Linked DNA regions of Homo sapiens: region 2 is linked to region 1. Evidence: promoter capture Hi-C in 16 types of primary human blood cells and fetal thymus (Javierre and others, 2016). All regions are on one chromosome and are shown on one strand. The core of a region is centred on a gene start or on the middle of the fragment in contact, and the rest is flanking DNA. Distances in the headings are between cores, read along the strand shown. Region 1 holds the start of NKX3-2 (NK3 homeobox 2). Region 2 holds the start of HS3ST1 (heparan sulfate-glucosamine 3-sulfotransferase 1).

Region 1 (3,847 bases), core at 650-3,149:
ACGGGAGTGGGGCGGAAATACACTTTGATCCCACTCAAGCGGAGCGGAGGTCTGGGAGGCCCTGGGCCCGGGAGACCAGTCTTAGACTCTTGCCCCACTGGGTATCCCATCTAGGCCTCTTCTGGGGAGGGCGGCAGACTCAGCCGCTGTGTCAACGCTGTGTTGTCGAGACCAGCTCCCCACCCTCTCTGGGCCCCAGGCTCCCCTCAGTAACTTGGGGCACTCGACCCGAGCATCCGCGAAAGCCCTCCCGGCTCTCAGCGTTGAGCATTGGGATTCTAGACTGCATTTCCGTCTCTCTGCTTGGGTTCACGCGCCTCTCCACACTTAGTTCACACGCACACACGCGCGCGTCCTCGCAGCACACACTTGTCTGGTGCAGGTAAGGGAAGGTGGAGGCGGATCCTGGGGCCAAAGGTATTTAGAATCTTTCACCCTCAGCCGCCTGGGATTGCTGTGAGAGACATGGAAACAGGCTGAGCCGAGGCCTTAGATGAGAGGATGGACTGGAGAGTAAAGAGGGAGGGTTGCCCCTGCATCGAGTTTTTGGACCCTGATCCCACACCAGCTTCTCGGTCTCGTACCCGCCCTTCCGAAGAACTCCAGCAGAAAGGTCCAGCGGTCCCCTGTGCTTGAGGCCTACAGAAGCTTGTACCCAACTAGGGCAGGCACCCGGGTCTTCCAGACCACAGGACAGGACAGGCCACGGCTGAGGAGGCCTCTCTCCTGCCTCCAGGATGAACTAAAGACCCAATCCGGGATCTTCGGCCTAGGGCTGCTCTCCCAGACCTGGGGTCTGAGAAAGCCAAACCAGCCCTTTCCCCAAAGCTCTAGTTCTGCAGATTCTCAGCTCTGGCCCACTCGGAGGTGTTCTTCACCACCTATCCACCTACTGTGGGGCCCGGCCCTGGGACCTTGAACTGGCAGGTCTCTGGTCCAGAGCTAGGTCACTGGCTACCTGAGGTCTCTGAACCCCTCACTTTTCCGCTTCCCTGATTTTGGGGATTTGGGGACAGACACGGCAGAAAGCACTGGCGACGAACTCAAAAACTCCCGAACGCAAGGGGCAGCGGTTCTCCCAACCCAGTCTAATGCACATTGGCCCAGGATGTCTCAGGCCTCACCCCAGGACGTAGGGCTCTGAGGAGCTACTCCGGTCTCTCGCGGGCTCAGTTCCCGAAGTGATAGAGCAGCTCGCGCCAGAGCGCAGAACTTCGGGATTTGGCCAGCCTCCGAGCCCCAGGGCGCAGGGTGCTCAAGCCGACCACCCCACTCGGCGTGGTTGCCCTCCGCGTCCATCCCCTCAGCCCGGCCCCCATCCCCGCGAAGCCGCAGCAGACCTGAGACGCTGGCGGACATCTCGCTGTCGCTCCGGCCCGCGGCTTCCTCCTCTAGGTCTTTGGAAGCGGCCAGCTCACAGACCGGCTGGCCGAGGCTCAAGGATCCCCCCGCAAGGCCGGCCCCGCTGGCCCCCCGCGCGTCCGCGCAGCGCCGCCTGCTCTCGTTCTCCTCGCTGAGCGCGGAGTCCGAGTCCCAGCCTTCCGGGCTCTCCGCAGTCCGCCCCGCAGCTGTTCTGGTACCGGCAGGAGACGCCAGCAGAGAGTCCTCGGCGCCCCCCAACGCGCCCGCGTCCCTCTCCCCAAAGAGCCGCCAACAGCAGACAGCGGGAGCCGCGGCCACCGATGCCGCTGTGCCCCCGGGCGCCGGGCGCCCCTCTGGCGCGGCCAGCCCGCCGCGCTCCTCTTTCTTGTTGAGGATCGCCTGGATGGAGAAGGACGTCAAGGTGTTGGCGCCGCGCACAGCCATCTGCGCCGCGGGCAGGAGCGGCCGGCGGGGCGGGCAGCTGGGGCGCCGAGCAGCTCCGAGCGGGACAGAGAGCGCCGGCGGCCGCAGCGCGAGTGAGCTGGGTGTGCGAGGCCGCCGCCGCCCACTGCTGCGCGGCCCAGCAGCTCCCGCCCCACTCCGTCCCAGGATCAGCGCCGACCCTCGCCCCCACCTTAGAGGCCCACCCCGCCCGGAGACCCCCTCCCCCCGAATCCAGAGCCAGACGCTCTCCTTTCGCAGCTCAGCTGGATTATCTCATCGCTTCTCGCCCTTAGGGGCGGGCTGGGGTCTGCCCCCTCGGGGGACGTGAAGGAGGATTGGCGGGGGCCCCTCCGTGGCAGCAGTCCCCTCCCGAGCGCCGCCGGGGCGCACAGCCCGAGTCACTTTTTCTTTGCGCGTCTGTCCCTTCCTCGCCTGCAGGATTTCGCTCCTGGCCCGTCCTCCCCTTCCCTGCTGGGCAGGCTCTTCCGGAGCCCACCCCCGGCGGCGGCGGCGGTAGCCGCGGCCGCGGCCGCTGGATTCCGAGAGGCGCGGGGAACTTTTTTACCCCCTGCCCTGGTTTTATCTGTTTCTTTTCTCTTTCCTTCCCTTGCGTTCCACTGTACCACCCCCCTCCCGCCCGGGTGTCATTCCTCACTGCTGAGTGACAGCCTGAGGCCACACCCCTCCACTGGGCTGTCCCGGGCGCTCCCGGCCGTCCATTGGCTGGCTCCAGTTGGGCGACGTTGACTTTAACAGACAAAACTGGGCACGTTGCGCCGCTAAAGACAGGGTCTGACTTAACCCCTTCTCTCCTAAGCCTGGTCCTCGAAGCACCCTCCAGCAACAAGGAGGCTCATCCGACCCAAACCACGTTTCTTACCTCTGCAGATGTATCCACTTATTCCAGCGCTTTAACAGAACACTGATACTAAGTTGAGTCAAATCTGCGGAGAAAATCCAAGATAATGCAGTTCCATAAATCATGCTCGTAGTTTCTGTTCTCTAGGAAGGATTATAAACACGAAGAACAAAATGCATCCTTTTTTTTCTCCCTACAGTTTCGCCGCTTCTTCATTGCTAATGCTCTTTGCTGAAATGATCAGTTAATTAAGATCACTCTAGAAATATTTTTCTTTCCTCGTCGTCTTTGATTTGATTCGATTTTTATAGAGGAATTATAAAAAAATGGTATAGTTAGAACTAAAGTCAGGAGAAGAATTGAAAGGCATCTTTGGGAGAATTTCTGTAAATTTTATGGTCGTTTCCCTGGCAGACCAATATTGAATTTAATTGGAGTTTGTTAAGTTTTGCATCAGGAAGAAAAAAAAAACTTTCAATTTGTTTTTTTTAAATATCTCTTACTTGTGAGTTGAATAAAATTATAAATAGATATGTTTGTTTGCTTAGAAGTATACCTAGGAATTACCATAAAGTGATCCAGAAGTGACAACACTTTTTGCTCTTTAAAAAATAAGAAATGCATTGTATTATGTAATAGTAGGAACCAAGCTAAGAAACACAAATATTGTGGGTATATAAAAACATTTTAAAATGTGTTATTCCTTTTTTAATATAAAATTTGCTCAATTAACGTACTTCACTGTTTTCCATAAACTTTACCAGAGAGTTAACACCAAATACACAAACTTGAACCATTAAATACATTTAAAGGACTATGATTTTAATTTATTAAATTGCTAGGATTGGTAGTTTTGGTGTCATTAAAATAAATAACATCTCCCCTTGTTGCTTTCTTTTTGGTTGTTCTTTTTCTGCACCGCAGAAGGAAATACACTGACTATTCATAGTTCTCAGTCTCAGAATGAGGTTTTGCAGCATCTATACTTTTCAGCATTTCGGTTACATGATGCTTTCTTGCTTTGTGCAAACCTTGTAGGGTACCTGGGAAAAAACATCCACTTGAGGTCATTGCCCTTTACAGCTCTTTACAATTACATCAGTTTTGAAGGAACGCCATTTAAATTTGGTGTCAGTGCTCAGCAAGTGTAAGGACGCAGAGTGGAACAGCAGAATGCTTACA
Region 2 (4,066 bases), core at 1,054-3,553, 2.1 Mb before region 1:
CATTGTATACCCTGTGGCATCACAGAGGATCCACAGTCTAGAAGCACAGCTTAATAAGCCTCACTAAGGAATCTTCATCTATGCTGCTGTTGTAATTAACTGCTTCCACTTAAGAGTGCTTAGTCATGAAGTTGTCCATCCCTGTCAAACTCAGCTGAAAGAGTTAGATGGGCTAACCAAAACCTGGAAAGACTCTTTTAGAAGCTGTTCTTTCTCTGCTTAGCGCTGGAGAAAACCTTATGTAACACAATGGTCCATTTCAATATGTTATTTCTGCAATCCTGTGGGGGAAAATCTAAGCGCTGGATGTACAACGGGAAGGGTAAGGCAGGGATTTGCAGCGGAGCGCGCGTCTCCTGGAATTTCAGTAGGTAAGGCTTATTCTAATTGCACCCAGTGTTACCCAATATTACCAGGAATGCAGAAAGCAAGAAAAAAATCCGAACGTCAAAGGATGCGCTTTGCTTTAGAAATGCAGGGAGGCAGAAGTTGGGTTATTTCTCCCTCCTTTTTTTTTCTTTTTTTTTTAAAGATGGAATTCCTGGAATTAACCCTTGGGTGGAAGCATTTCAACAAAATAAAATGAGATTTGCCTGCAAAGCGAGAACGCACGGGTGGGAATGAAGGATCCTGCCTGTGCCAGGCTGCTGCCTCAGCAGTGTCCAAGCACCCAGCGCCTGAAAGCGGGAGCGTGGGGACTCGTCTGGGGACCCTCTTCCGGGGCTACTGGCGGGAGGCGCAGCCGAGCTGGTGGTGGCGGGGTTTCCCTCCGGGGCTAGGGCTGAGGGAGGAGAAGAGGGCGGACTGGCTCCTTCCGTTCTCGGCCACCCTCCCCGCCACTCCTTGAGGCTGCTCCATGCTAACAGGAGACTGTTTCTCGGAGCGCAGCGCAAAGACAGTGGATTTGGAGTGGCCTCCCTAGAATCCCCCCAAAAGCATCTTGGCACAAGTTGTAGATAAAAATAGCTCATGATAACATTGTGGGAAAGGGAGGAGCGAGACTCGCGCAAGGCGAGGCAAGGGTACCACTGGATCTGCAAAGGAGGAGGAAGAGGGAGGATGCAACCCTTGGCCCAAGAGAGCGCCCTGAGTGTGCGAGGAATCGCTGGCTCCCAGGGGAGGGAAAGAGATGGAAGACCTATAGCGCCTATAACTGCAGAGTTATAGACCTATAACTGCAGAGCCCAGCACACCCCATCCCGCGCCGGCACCCGGCTTTGGCTCCAGCTTCTTCTTCCCATCATCCGCCTACGTTCTGGGTCTGTCCTCCGCTTCCTGGGACAGGCTGGGGCTAGAAGGAGGAGCAGCGCGCCGTCCGCCCCCTGGCTGGTAGAGCGCACCTGGAGAGGTCAAGCTCCGCGAATAAGACCCTTCCTGGGAGCTGGGGTCTAGGCGTTCCAACCGCGGGTTCGCACCCCGCCATCCCTCACCTCCATCCGCTGCCACTACCCAAGGGCCCGGAAATAGAAAACCACGAAGGGGGAAAAAAATCAGTAAAAAGTAACAAGAAAAAAATCAAGACCCTCATGTAATTGGCATTAGGGATGAGAGGTTTATTGTCAGGGCTGTCACCTCAATCTCTCTCTTTGGGAGATGCCTATCTCCAACCAAATGCAAAGGCAAACCCGACCAAGGCTTCTCCACCCCCAAAGGCTCCCTCAGCCGAGTTACTTTTGCGGGCTGTGTCCTCGCCCCAGTTTCTGGCCCCAGGTGGTACCCAGGATCCGTTGAGTGCTGCGCTCTCGCTGCCCTACAGGGTCCTATGGTGAAGCTGCGGTCGCGAAGCGGCCGGCAGGAGCGAACCTCACGACTCTGCAGGGGGGGAAAACATCCAACCCAGTAAGAGTCAGAAATCTGGGTCCCTGTCCTTACAGATCAACCGGTCCCTCGGGACTTCCAGAGCAGAGGTGCTAGGGCAGGAGGTGAGGAGGATGGGAAAATCCCCAGCCTTTGCTTCCTGGTTCCCTCTGCATCCACTCCACCTGCTCCAGCCTCGATTCTTCTTAGGTTCTGCACTTGCCCGAAGTCCAGAACGCCAGACAAAGGCACCTCGGAGCCCTCTACACCTGCGTCCTGCCACTCTCCCACCCCGCGCGCGCCGCACTCACCTGAGCCGCGCCTCTGTCCAGCCCGTCCGGCGCCCTAAATAGGCTCCTAGGCTGGGCCATGGGCAGCACTGCCGAGCACCCGCGGCGGGTAGAGCAAGTTTCTGGATGGCCCGGGGCAGGCGGGCGGGGAGAAGGCGCAGGCACCCACTGAGACCCGGCTGTCGTGGCGGCGACTCCTGGCTGCCAGGGCGCAGAGGACCTTGCAGGCGGGCGTTTTGGTGCTCAATCCCGAGGAGGGGGAGGAGCGGGAGGAGGAGCGGGAGCAAAAGGAGGGGACGGAGGAGGCCGGGCCCGGAGGGAGAGCGCGTTGGGCAGAGGAGGATCGCGAGCGCCCACTGCTGCCCGGCCCGCTCGGGTGCCGCCCAGAGTCCGGCCCGCTAGGTGCCTGGTGCTCCGCTCTGCGCTCAGCTGCTCCGCACAGCCCCGCCTGGCACGCAGCTCCAGCGGCTGGTCGGGTAGTAGTCGGTCCCGCCCACCCGGTGCGGTGGCCCCTGGGGTTTCAGTCCAAGGGGAGGGACCAGCGCTCCAAGAAGGTGAGGCTGCTGGGATGGGTGACTCCGCCGTCACTGCAAACACGGGACGTCCCGTCTACTCCCTTACGCCTGCTTGGTCTGAGCCCGAGTCTACCTCTTCTCTAAGTCGCCAGCTCGGCACTTGTACCCGGGACCTGTGCTCCTCCCACGTGAGTCTGCACCATGCGTATTCCCTTCCTGGCAGGTGACCCACCTTAGGCGCTGGCGCTCCTTCCGCCCCCCGGGAAGCAGGAGGTGCCATCCTCTCCAATTCGCTCTGCAGCCGGACTGGGACCGGAGCGGCGGCCTGGGCCAGAATCCGCGTGAGGAGCCGGCTTCAAAGAGCGCCCTGTCGCCATTGAACACTCCTTTTCCTTTGGTTTAGCGTCGGAGAGCGGACGCCAATTTGCCAGGAGAGCGCGGAAAATTCAGCTTTTTTTTTTTTTTTTTTTTTTTTTTTTTTCCGCTAGTGCACTAGGATTGCAAACGTCAGCTCTGAAATAAAAAGCAGGATATTTCTGCCCCGCTCCTCTATTCCGGAAGCTGGGAGGTTCTGTGGGAGAAAGGACCTGCACCCAATAACTCAATTTAAGATTTAAGGTTTTGAGGGGCGTGGGGTTGGAATCGCCTTGGAGAAACGGGTTTGCCTGCTTACCTGAGCCAAAGGAAGTTGCCCTCAAAGGCAGGTCAGCAATCATACCCCGCCAAAAGCAAATGCACATCAAAGTAACTTCCTTTAAATGAGATTACTGTAGTTTCCATGTCTTCCACATTAGTAAATAAATATTTGGAAGACTTCGAATTTGTGATTTACGTTTAAATATATTTCACCAACATTGTTTAATTAAAAAAAAATCCCATCTAAGAGAAGGTTCCTATAGGAAATTGGCCCTTTAACTCATACACAGATTACCCTCGGCACTTTCAGAAAACAACACAGTGACCAGTATATTCTGTCTTTTTGATACAGCCAGAAGCACCCTGAAAGCTGAGACCTAACTGTGCTTTTGGAAAATAAGCTTTTAGGAGTTGAATGACCTTGTCTACTTCTTTTAGTCAGAATAATGTTGGCATGTCTATTTTAGGTTAAAAAAAAATACAAATTCTAAAAAGTGACTTTAAAGGCCCACTTTGAAAGCCTTAGCATTTAAACTAACATTAGATTTAAAAGAAGGGCTTTTCTCCCCCATTATAGGAAGCTGTGTAAAATCATGTGTGAGGTTGTGAGGGTCAAATGGAAGTCTAAGATAAAGTTCTGCCAATTACTGGTGTCTTTAAGCTTCCACCAGCAGCCAAGCACAGTGCAGATCATGAGTCCTTCAAAATACGGGGTGGTTTTAATGCTCTAAGTTGGTATGATTACTTTTTCTAAAGAGCTCAAAGTGCTTTGGTGCCATAGTATGAATTTCATTACCCATTGTGAGACACAAAGGGGGTTAGCAATGA

The links. Contacts are between HindIII fragments. The CHiCAGO score rates a contact against its expected background, and 5 or more counts as called.
Region 2: the fragment with the promoter of HS3ST1 here is called in contact with the fragment with the promoter of NKX3-2 in region 1 in 3 of 17 cell types (neutrophils, naive CD8 T cells and total CD4 T cells); the score reaches 6.8 in neutrophils.

Annotation. Positions count from the first base shown.
Region 1 is chr4:13,542,609-13,546,455 of GRCh38, forward strand. NKX3-2 (NK3 homeobox 2) reads right to left here and starts at 1,900. Exons shown (of 2, transcript NM_001189.4): 1 at 1,341-1,900. The coding sequence starts at 1,806. It overlaps LINC01096 (long intergenic non-protein coding RNA 1096), which reads right to left. Exons shown (of 1, transcript NR_015450.1): 1 at 3,468-3,847. The HindIII fragment of the contact is 11,352 bases long and covers 647-3,847 here.
Region 2 is chr4:11,426,591-11,430,656 of GRCh38, forward strand. It overlaps HS3ST1 (heparan sulfate-glucosamine 3-sulfotransferase 1), which reads right to left and starts at 2,304. Exons shown (of 2, transcript NM_005114.4): 1 at 2,109-2,304. RefSeq lists an enhancer at 1,960-2,179 and a silencer at 2,270-2,449. The HindIII fragment of the contact is 3,893 bases long and covers 1-3,637 here.